Regions from separate parts of the Homo sapiens genome. Here region 1 is linked to region 2. Evidence: promoter capture Hi-C in 16 types of primary human blood cells and fetal thymus (Javierre and others, 2016). All regions are on one chromosome and are shown on one strand. Each heading gives the region's core, a stretch centred on a gene start or on the middle of the fragment in contact. The rest is flanking DNA. Distances are from core to core; before and after follow the strand shown. Region 1 overlaps H6PD (hexose-6-phosphate dehydrogenase/glucose 1-dehydrogenase). Region 2 holds the start of GPR157 (G protein-coupled receptor 157).

Region 1 (5,860 bases), core at 933-3,432, 120 kb before region 2:
TGAGTCCAGGAGTTCAAGACCAGCCTAGGCAACATGGCAAAACCCCATCTCTACAAAAAATACAAAAATTAGCTGGGCATGGTGAAATACACCTGTGGTCCCAGCTACTTGGGAGGCTGAGGTGGGAGGATCACTTAAGCCTAGGAGGTCGAGGCTGCAGTGGGCTATGATTGCACCACTGCACTCCAGCCAGGGCGACAGATAAAGACCCTGTCTCCAAAAATAAAAAATAAAAAATAAATAAATAAATAAGAGTTATTGGCCTCAAACAGTTAAACAGAGTCATGATCCTCCAGCAACCCCACTCCTGGGTTTATACTCAAGAGAAATAAAAATGCAGGTCCACACAAAAGCTTGTACATGAATGCTCATTGCAGCATTATATATAACAGCCAAAAAGTAGAGGCAACCCAAATGTCCACTAACTGGTGACTGGATAAATTATGGTATATCTATACAATAAGATATTATTCAGCAGTAAAAAGAAATGAAGTGCTGGTACATGCTAGAACATGGGTGAACTCTGAACTCAGGATGCTAACTGATGGAAACCACACACCGTATGATCCTATATGTACAAAATATCCAGAACAGGCAACCCCGCAGAGAGAATGCATTTCTGTGGTTGCCAGGAGCTGGGGAGAGGGGGAAATTGTGGGATGACAACGAAGGGGTACAGGGCTTCCTTTGCCGTGATGAACATGTCCTAAAATTGATTGTGGTACTGACACACAACTCTGTGAATACACGAAAGCTCACTGGCCTGTCCACCTTAACTGGGTAAAGTGTAGTAGGATTTGTGAGTTACAGCTCAATAAAACTTTTTAAAAAAGGTTTTAGAACAGGGAAGCAGAAGCACGAAAGAGGTACTTCAGGAAGATGAAGCTGTCTGCGACCTCCAAGATGAACAGGATGGGACTGGTGGTAGTGAAATCAGTGAGGCAGCCTTTGCTGCCATCAAAGGAAGTAACAAAGGTAGGAGGGAACGAAGTCACAGTGAACTGCAAAGAAGTTATTATAGCAGATGAATACAAACTACTTGGTGACTGGCTGGATCCTTGAATGGTGGTACAGAGCTGTGATCTGGAGTGTGGTCTCTGGAGCCAGGCTGCTCCAGTTTATTTTATCTTATTTTATCTTATCTTATTTTGTTTTATTTTATTGGAGATGGAGTCTCCCCATTACCCAGGCTGCAGTGCAGTGGCGCGATCTTGGCTCACTGTAACCTTCGCCTCCTGGGTTCAAGCAATTCTCCTGCCTCAGCCTCCCGAGTAGCTGGGATTACAGGCACAAACTACCATGCCTGGATAATTTTTGTATTTTTAGTGGAGATGGGGTTTCACCATTTGACCAGGCTGGTCTTGAACGCCTGACCTCAAGTGATCCACCCGTCTCGGCCTCCCAAAGTGCTGGGATTACAGGTATAAGCCCCCGTGCCCAGCCTGCCCCGGTTTAAATACCGGCTCTGCCATCTTTCAGCCCTGTGATCTCCAGCAACTGACATCACCTCACATACGAACAAGCAACAATCCCCGCACCTCCCTTACAGGGCTTCTGTGGGCCTGAAGGAGTTAATATCCACACAGGGCTTGGAACAGTGGCTAGCACACAGGAAACACTGATAAAGACTGGTTGGAATTTTTCTTATGACAGATGCTGTAAGAGAAGGGCTACCAGCCTGGTCACTCAGAGAGCACTGTTCCCATTTGAAATAAAGAGGTTAGAAAACACAGTTGGTATTTCATGAGAAAAATGCAGTGATGGTTTTCATTCTAAATCTGCTGAATCTGAAGGGATGGTGCAACACCCCATGAAATGATCTAAAAGGCGGCTGGAGGTATAAACTAGGGCCTGGGGAGACAACGCACACTGGAGATAAACTGGATTTCATCAAACCTGAAATGCCATCAGTGGCGGAAGCATCGCTGTTTTATAACCCCTAAGAAAGAAAAGGGTTTCCAGTTCCACTATGTCACCCTATTAAGGATAAACCCAACTTCAGAGACGTCCAAATATGAAAAAAATGTCTTCCAATCAATGAATTACAGTGGATTTATATGTCAACAGCATACTTAAAGCTTTAAAAACAGATGAATTTTTGATGAAGGGAACACAACAGAGTCCCTAAAAGCCCTGTTATCTGCTTACTATTCATTAATGTAGCGAATCCCTAAGCGGCCCCTTTCCTATTTTTATCCTCTCTCAATTCTCAAAAAGAATGCATTCCACGGGTTTACTACCTGCTGGGTAAAAGAGAGCTTCCTTTATTCCTTAATTTCAAGCTTCAGGGGGTGCGCCTGTGTTTAACACGGCCTGTAGATTTATGGACTTTGCCTGGTTGGCTCCGTCTTTTCAGAGTTTAATGCAGTGACTGGGACTGTGGCCTGGCACCTCCCTGGGAAGAGGCCATGCAGCTGAGTGCAAGGACAGGAGGCGAGGGGCTGGCCCTCCTGCTGATGTTGATCTTTTCTAGTTACTGCCCGTTATTGTGGACTGATTTCTCCTAAAAATGATCTATATTGGCTCCTAGTGTATTTTCCCGGGTTGAAAGTTGAGGGTTGAAACCCATCAGTATATGAAAAGGATAGAGAAAAGCACAACCAGGGTGGACACTGGGAGGAAAGACCCCCTGTAAACTTGGCTCCCACCTGTGCACATCCAGAGCTCGTCCAAGGTCAGAGGATGACAAAGCAGGGGGGCCATGGCTGTGCCCGCCAGCTGTGCTGCTCAGACTCATAACAGAGAGTAACAGCTAGAAAGCACTTCTCCCCTTTGGCCCCGTCATTCTACTGCCGAAGTATATACTTAAAGGGAATATGTTTTTTAAAATGCTCATAAATGTTCTCGAATTAGATAGTAGTTGCATAACTTTGTAAATATACTAAAAACCACTTAATTTTATATTTTAAAAGCGTAAATTTTGTGGTATGTGCATTGTATCTCAATTTTAAAAAAAGCTCACAAAGTACCATCTAAGATAGAAGCCGGGGAGGTGGGGCACTCCTGTAGTCTCAGCTATTTGGGAGGTTAAAGCAAGAGAGGATCACTTGAGACCAGGCGTTCAAGACCAGCCTGGGTAACATAACAAGACTCCAAGATAATAATAATAAAATAGCAAAAAACTAGAAACAACCAAAAAGCTTAATAAAAGAGTTTATAACACATATTCTGTGGTATGAACAGAACTGAACAGAAATATAAATATTAAAAGGTATATGTTGTGCAGACTGCTAATACATAGAGATTTAAGTATGTATACAACTGTGTATGTATATGTGAGAGAGAAATATGACATAAAGAATGGACATAAAAGTATGACAGATCAATTACAGGATTTATATAATAATCCAATATAAGTCACGTGGAACTCAGACACACTGCAAGAACACTGCCGCTGCCTCTCCTTGCAAACTTGGAAGAACAACAACACTTCCATTTGTAACGTATTTCCGTGTGCATTATCTGATTTAATCCTTAGAACTACCCGAGAGAGAGAGGTGCCGGGGCTATCAGCATTGTATAGATGTGCGCTGAAGGTCACAGCCTTCAGAACCGGGACCAGAAACCCCTTCCTCGTTGCTTCCACATTGTGGGAAATCCAGGTTTTCTCAACAAAAATAGATTAAAAAAAAAAAAAAAAGACAACTAAGAGCCAGCTGCAATCCCCATCAACACCTTCTGGGATTACTAAAAATAAAAAGAGGTGAGGGCCAAGGAGAGCACAGTGTGCTTGCTGGTGCTCTCTCTGGACAGGAGATCCGGCAGCTGCCCTGGGCTCACCTTGCAGACAGCTCTGCAGAGGGGGCGGGAAGGGGAACCGGCCCTGCTGAGTGAGCTCCTGGCCCCTTCTGGCACACCAGGCTGGAAGGCGGGACAGCTGGTGTGTGCCTGGAAGGACCCTGGATGCCCTGGTCCCTCGGTGAGAGGCACTGAACGGTCACTCCAGCCCTCAGAGGTGGGCAAGCATCAGGCTCCTTTCCCCCATGTCAGGACAGGGACCCTCCCAGCAGTGATGTCCTCAGGAAGTCTCCCTCCTTCTTTCTAACAACAACAACAACAACAACAACAACAACAACAACAGCAGGCCTTCTACACAGAGGGGAAACTAGGGCAGCAAGGAGACTGGCCCTGAGTGCGTTCCAGCAGGGAGGCCAACTGCTGAGGGCCTGGCCAGCTGGGGAGGCTGTGGAGCTCAGTGGTTAGAGGCTCAGGCTCTGAGGTGCCAAGACCTCAGTTCCAATTCCAGCACTCCCGACAGAAAAGGCAGCCGGACCCAGACAGCTGAACACAGCCCATTAATCACATGGGCCCGCCTGTCTGCAGAGCCCTCCCGATGCCATGATGAGGGCCAGCCAGGGTCATCTCTGGGATGAAGGAGGCTCAGTGACTCTCCTTTTATGGCCCATGCTGCTTCGAGACCCCAGCCAGGGTACCCAGGGGGGCTGTGACTCTCAGGGGCTCACGGACTGGGACGCACAGGAGGAGCACCCCAGGTCAGGCTGAGAGGGAGCTGGGAACCAGATCGCGTCTTCCTTTCCTCCTCCCCACCCCCTCCGGCCTGTGCAGCAGCCTTGACTCTGCAGCAAACTCCTCTGGGCCAGAGGCTGCAGCAGGAAAAAAAAACAACACTCACCCAGCATGGAGGATGGAGGGGAGGGAGCCGGGGAAGCCGGCTTCCACCCACTTAGATGTGTGTGATGCGGGTGGGGGAAGACATCCAAACGACCTTGCAGCTCAGAAGTCCCTTTCCCGGGGCCTGCAGCAGCTCTGGACCGGGAATGCTCCATTTCCCAGGCCTGGCTTGCAGCCCCTCCCTTCCCAGCACTCAGGGTGCTGGCTTCGGTTACGCAGGTGCCACTCCTGCCTAGGAGTCAGCTAGGGTTGCACCACTGCAGGGGTGGAGAGCAGCTGGGATCCACCAGAACCCTTGGCAGGGCAGAGGACAGGGTAGGGAGTGAGGGAGAATGGCCTGTGGTATGTGTGGGGTGGGGAGTGGGAGAGAATGGCCTGTGGTGTGTGTGGGGTGGGGAGTGGGGGAGAATGGCCTGCGGTGTGTGTAGGGTGGGGAGTGGGGGAGAATGGCCTGCGGTGTGTGTGGGGTAGGGAGTGGGGGAGAATGGCCTGCGGTGTGTGTGGGGTGGGGAGTGGGGGAGAATGGCCTGCCGTGCACTTTGACCCCTCTGATTAGCAGTCAGACCGCGGGCTCCGAATCCTGCCTTGGAAACATTCTGCCCATGCTGAGCCCCACTGCAGCAGCACTCGCCTGCCAAGTCCACCAAGCTCCAGTAGGAGGCAGCATTTACTCCTGCCTGTTTCCCGCCCTCACCCGGGACAGCAGTGGCAGCCTAGGCCTTGCTGTGCTGGGCACAGGGCTCCTGGCCATGCTGGGGTGTGCTGCAGGTCTGCGGTGCCTGTCCCCTCTTTCCAGTCTGAACCACAGGTGGGAGGCCCCTGAAGGACTGGCTCCAAAGCAGGACTCAGAGAGGACAGCACAGAGCAGTGCTTGGGCCAGCAGGGCTGTACCAGGCCACCTTCCTGGAATGCAGAAAGAATGTGTCCCCTGGCACGCAGGCACACAAAATTGAGAGAGGCAGCAAGCAAGCTCATTCTGTTGCCAAAGCACCCTGTGTCCAAGGCCCACTTGCTGGGGGGCTGGGCTCAGCAGCAGGCTGTCCCTCCCTGCTACGAGCTATCAAGGACCTGTTTGTAAATGGCAGGTAAACAAGCCAACCAGTGAGGGCCAAACCCCAGGACAGTTGCAGTCCTGCTGGCCACCTCTGACAAGGAACGTGGACTGAACTAGCCCCACTCTGGTCTCACCGCGACAGGCTGCAAGCCTCCAGGACTAGTGGATCTCCCA
Region 2 (5,609 bases), core at 343-2,842:
CAACACGGTGAAACCCCACCTCTACTAAAATAGAAAAGAAATTAGCCGGGCGTGGCGGCGTGTGCCTGTAGTCCCAGCTACTCGGGAGGCTGAGGCAGGAGAACTGCTTGAAGCCGGGAGGCAGAGGTTGCAGTGAGCCGAGATCATGCCACGGCTCTCCAGCCTGGGCGACAGAGGGAGACTCCGTCTCTAGAAAAAAAAAAAAAAGGTGGTATATCCATATAATGGAATATTACGGGGCAGTAAAAGGAATGAAGCACTGCATATGCTACGATGAACCTTGGAAACGTGCTAAGTTAAAAAAGTCAGACATAAAGGCCACAGAGCATATGAGTCTATTTACAGGAAATGTGCAGAATAAGCAAATCCACGGTAGAAGAGTGGTTGCCAGGGCTGTCGGGGAGAACTGAGGGCTAACAGCTGAGGGATAAGGATTTCTTTTTGGGAGTAATGACAATGTTGTAGAATTACATAATAATGATGGTTGCACAAACTTGTGAACATACTACTGAATTGTTCGGTTAAGAGGGCCAATTTTATGGTATGTGAATTACATCTTAATTACAAAGTTTGAAATTTTTAAAGAAAAAGCCATGCCCTGCCTAGCATTTCATTTTTTAAAAATCACACCTAGTTAGCTATGGTTTTTAAAAAATAGCATGCTTATTTTAAGAAAAGGTGGAAACGCCGGCTTCCCCAAGTCACCACCAACTTGTGAACACGTCGGGATCACGGCTGAAGGAATGAGGATCATACCCGAGAGCTGTTTCTGTTGCTAGTGGAAAGAATGCCTCTGATCCTCACGCCCTTCCACTCACAACACACACAGAAGCTGGCTGAAAAGAGGGAAAGTAATATTAGCCCTAAAAATGCCAGCCCTTCCTCTCACAGGACTGGATGTCCCAGACACCTGGCAAGAGCAGGGGTGGGCCTGGAGGAGCGTGGAGGGACAGGTGCTGGGACCTGGGGGTGCCCTGAGGTAGGGCTTAGGGACCTAGGGGCTTAGGGGCGTGGTGTGAGGGCGTGGGCGGGGCTCAGGAGCCTCGGGCACCGGGTGGAGCTTGGAAGCCTCAGGGGCGTGGCGGGGGCGGGGCTCAGGGCCCGGGGCAACGGGACGAGGAAGGGCACCTGAGCCAGGGTCAGGGCCCGGAACACAGGGGTGTGGCGGGGTGCGTGGGCGGAGCGGGGCGCGTGGGTTAGGCTCTAGGCCCAGGTCTCTGGGCCCTGTGGACAGGGGATCGGGGCGCGTGGGCGGAGCTCTAAGTCCCAGTCTCAACGCGGGGGCACACGGGCGGGGGGGGGGCGTGTGGGCGGGAAGGGCATGTGGGCCGGGGGACGTGTGTCCGGGGCTCGGATTGTGGGCGGGGCTCAGGGCCTGGGACGGCGGGACGGGGCTGGGAGTGTAGGCGGGGCTTAAAGGCCGGGGTACCGGGGTGGGGCGCGGCGCGTGGGCGGGGCTCAGGGCCCGGGATATAGGGGCGGGGCGCAGGGCGTGGACGGGGTTCAGGGCCCGGGGCCCAGATGGGCGGGGGAGCGGCCGGACGCGGGCGGGGCGGGCGCCTGGACGCGAGCCTAGGGCGCCTCGGTGCCCAGACGGCGGCGGCGTGGCCGCACGCGCGGCCCGGCTTCTGTCCTCGCGGCGCTCCGGCTCCTGGCCCCCCACGCCATGCAGCCGTCCCCGCCGCCCACCGAGCTGGTGCCGTCGGAGCGCGCCGTGGTGCTGCTGTCGTGCGCACTCTCCGCGCTCGGCTCGGGCCTGCTGGTGGCCACGCACGCCCTGTGGCCCGACCTGCGCAGCCGGGCACGGCGCCTGCTGCTCTTCCTGTCGCTGGCCGACCTGCTCTCGGCCGCCTCCTACTTCTACGGAGTGCTGCAGAACTTCGCGGGCCCGTCGTGGGACTGCGTGCTGCAGGGCGCGCTGTCCACCTTCGCCAACACCAGCTCCTTCTTCTGGACCGTGGCCATTGCGCTCTACTTGTACCTCAGCATCGTCCGCGCCGCGCGCGGGCCTCGCACAGATCGCCTGCTTTGGGCCTTCCATGTCGTCAGGTGGGTGGCGGTGGCGCTGCTTTTCCAGGAGCCCCCGACACAGGCCGACCCCTCCCGGTCTTGCCCTCCCAGAGGCCGCGTCTAGGTTGGACACCCCCTACCCACAGCAAGCAGTGCCTGCTGGCGCCCCCGAGGCTGTCCTGGGCCAGCGGGAGGAGGCCAGCCTTGCCCGAGATTCGCTCCCTCCCGAAGGAGCCCCGCTGTGCCTGCCCCAGGGCACAGCCCCTTGGGGTAGTGGGGACAGAGTTCGCCCCCAGAGCCGGGCCCTGTTTCCTTGGACGGGGCTGGGGAGGACACTCTGAGCCCCTTGTGACCTGCTTCACTGTGTCCTGGCTGTCTCTGCTGCCCATGGGGAAACAGGCTGGGAGACGAGTTAGGTAACTGTCCCGGGCTGGAGAGCCGGCAACTGCCAGTCCCACGCCACCACCCCACCCCAAGCCACAGTGAGCTTGGTGCACTCCGCCACTCCCGAGCTGCCGTGTCTCTGCTGTACAGTTTACAAAGGACTGTGCTTTTTATTCTGTCTTTGGTCGTTTCTAGCCTCAGGCCCCAGCCCCTTGTATTTCTGTTCTAGATGATCTTGACTTTCCAGAGTTCAGCAATTCTGAGATTGAGGGCAGGGGCGGAGGGCTGGTCTGGGAGTCTCGGAGTCCTCCTGGAGTCTCTCTGAGAGTGGGGAAAAGCCAAGACCTTACTTTGCGATTCAAGCGTCTTTCAAGTAAGCCTCGCTGAAGAGGGTCGGCCCTTCCCTGGGGAATGTCAGGTTTTGAAAATCTCATGGCGTCCTGTGCTGTGCTGAACTGAGGGCAGGAATCCTAGGGGCTGTTTTCCTTTTCTCCTTCTCCCAGATCAGAGCATCAGATACTGCCCTAATTATAGGTCCTTTCTATTAAAAACTTAAGTGCATTCCAAGGACTGCGAGCACAGTCAGCACTTTGGCAGAGACAGGTCACCTGGGTGTCACACGGCAAGGCTACAGGGCTGTAAGAGTCGCTTGACCTTCAGTTGTGCACTGAGGCCGGCTGGTCCTTGAGAAACTAAGTGACCTGCTTCTCAGCTGTACAAGTAAAAAATCTTTGCAACACATCATCCAAACCGAGGCTCAGATGCTGCAGATGGAATAGGGCCCTGCCTTGCCTTGCCTTCCCGGCAGCATCCCATCTGACCCTGTCTGGGTCCCGTGATGGCTGGCTGGGTGTGGGCCCCGAGTACACGGGAGATCGTGTGTACTTGGAAGGAGTCGAGGCTGTACCTCTCTTTGCAAGAACCTGTTCTCTTTCCCTTCTTGTCTTTAAAAATATTGAATACAGTATTTTTTTAATGGTAACAGAACCTGGTCCAGCTTCTGTGGAAAAGAAGGATTGCCCAGCAAACCTGAGTTGGGGGTTTTTCTGTTCGGTTCTCATTACGGACCCTCTAGGGGGGTTTCTGTGTTGTTCAGGAAGGGCTTCTTTGATAAAGAAGTAGGCCCAGTGTGGTGGCTTGTACCCGTAATCCCAGCACTTTGGGAGGCCGAGGCAGGAGCATCGCTTGAGCCCAGGAGTTCAACTGGCCAACACAGTGAGGCTTTGTCTCTACTAAAAATTTAAAAATTAGCTGGGCATGGTGGCGCATGCCTGTAGTTCCAGCTACTTGTGAGGCTGAGGTGGGAGGATCGCTTGAGCCTGGGAGGTCGAGGCTGTAGTGAGCTATGATTGCAGACAGAGCAACACCCTCTCTCAAAAAAAAAAGAAAAAAATTTTTAAAAAATGAAGGAAAAAGAAAAGAAAAAACAAGCAACGTATTCATCTTGTCTGTTGAATGTGACCTGCCTGCATCTTAAAAGAAAATAAAATTATCTGTATCCAAGCTAGAGAGGGAGTTTGACAATTTATTCTCTGGAGTTCTCAGCACTCAGACTTCGCTAGTCTAAGGGAATTGGTTAAACCTGCCTAACAGGTTCATCTGTTAACCTAGATCTTCCCAGACTGTATTGCCAATGACCTTACTAAGGACTCTCCAGTGTATTTCTTTGGAATATTAGTTTATTGTTTGCAGGATCTATTGATGTGAGAAATATCACCTTCAGGCATAGACTACATGATTATCCACTTTTTAACCATTTCATACTACTGGAATTCAGTCCTCTTCAAAGCTTTCAGTTTTAGAAAGTATTTTAAAATACGACAACACAGAAGGTTGACATCCTTATTCTAATGTGCGTTTAGGAATTGAATTGTTTTAAACCCACAAATATCCTGAAAAATGGACAAAGGACATACTCAAGCAAAATAGTAACAGCAGTTGAAAAAATATGTCATATACCATTAATATGCAAAGCAATACAAGTTATAACAGTAAGGTACCATTTCCTCATTTAATTTGAAGGAAAAAAATAGTAAGGCAGAGTTGGGCACGGTGGCTCATGCCTGTAAATCCCAGCACTTTGGGAGGCCAAGGTGGGCGGATCACTTGAGGTCAGGAGTTTGAGACCAGCCTGGCCAACATGGCAAAACCGCGTCTCTACTAAAATTACAAAAATTAGCTGGGTGTGGTGGTGCGTGTCCCAACTACTCAGGAAGCTGAGGCAGGAGACTCGCTTGAACCTGGGAAGTGGAGGTTGCAGTGAGCCACGATCGCGCCACTGCACTCCAGCCTGGGTGATAGAGCAAGTCTCCATATCAAAAAAAAAAAAAAAGGCAGAATACAAACATGATAAATGCGAGTTTCACTGGCATTTTTCTACAGTATTATTGATGGTGTGAATTGAAATAGTCTTTGTAGAAAGTATTTGGTTCATACCCCTTGATCCAATAATCCTATTTACCAAAGCCTAGTCTAATGAGATAATCTAAAATATGTACAAAGCTGTATGTACGAAGGTGTTTGTGAGGCACTTATGGTGAGAATTTGGAAGTGACCTCAAGGTCCAACAGTGGGGGAACAGGAAGTTAAGAGTCTACCCTCCCCTTCTGAAATGGTATGCAGCTCTTTGATACTGGTTTTGAATTCTGTAAGTCATTTTTTTAAATGATATGATTCAATGCGAAGTGACAGAAACCATCGCTAACACTGATTACAGCCACATAAAGGCAGGAGGTTAGAGAGAATCCTGCACGTGCACAAGTTCCCAGGAGAGCACCTGCGTGGCCCCCTTTACAGAGAGAGGAGGGCAGTTTAGACCTCATCCTCAGGAAATCACATTTCAGCATGAGCTGTGTCTGGCCCCTGATGTTTGCAGAGTGCTGTTCCATTCATTAGCTCACTAATCACCAATAACCCAACAGGGCCAGGAGTGGTAGCTCACACCTGTAATCCCAGCACTTTGGGAGGCTGAGGCAGGAGGATCACTTCAGCCCAGGAGGTTGAGGCTGCAGTGAGCCGAGACCACCACTGCATTCCAGCCGGAGTGACAGAGTGAGACCTGTCTCAAAAAAAAAGAAAAAGAAAAAAAAAGTAACCCAACAGAATGGATGGGTGGGGTGATTACCCTCATAGCAGATGTGATGGCCCAGGGCTACATAGCTAGTAAGGTATTGTGGGATCTGGCCAGCAGCCGGCAATGCAATGGGGCTCTCTCT

Evidence for each region. Contacts are between HindIII fragments. The CHiCAGO score rates a contact against its expected background, and 5 or more counts as called.
Region 1: a fragment that was not itself captured here is called in contact with the fragment with the promoter of GPR157 in region 2 in 2 of 17 cell types (M1 macrophages and megakaryocytes); the score reaches 5.6 in M1 macrophages.

The regions. Positions count from the first base shown.
Region 1 is chr1:9,249,657-9,255,516 of GRCh38, reverse strand. All of the region lies in intron 3 of H6PD (hexose-6-phosphate dehydrogenase/glucose 1-dehydrogenase), which reads right to left. Among named protein-coding and RNA genes, the nearest start is that of H6PD, 18 kb to the right of the region's middle. RefSeq lists enhancers at 2,491-3,050, 3,313-4,235, 5,160-5,860. The HindIII fragment of the contact is 204 bases long and covers 2,081-2,284 here.
Region 2 is chr1:9,125,085-9,130,693 of GRCh38, reverse strand. GPR157 (G protein-coupled receptor 157) reads left to right here and starts at 1,592. Exons shown (of 4, transcript NM_024980.5): 1 at 1,592-2,049. The coding sequence starts at 1,667. RefSeq lists enhancers at 95-214, 235-304 and silencers at 1,006-1,325, 1,386-1,735. The HindIII fragment of the contact is 8,185 bases long and covers 1-4,185 here.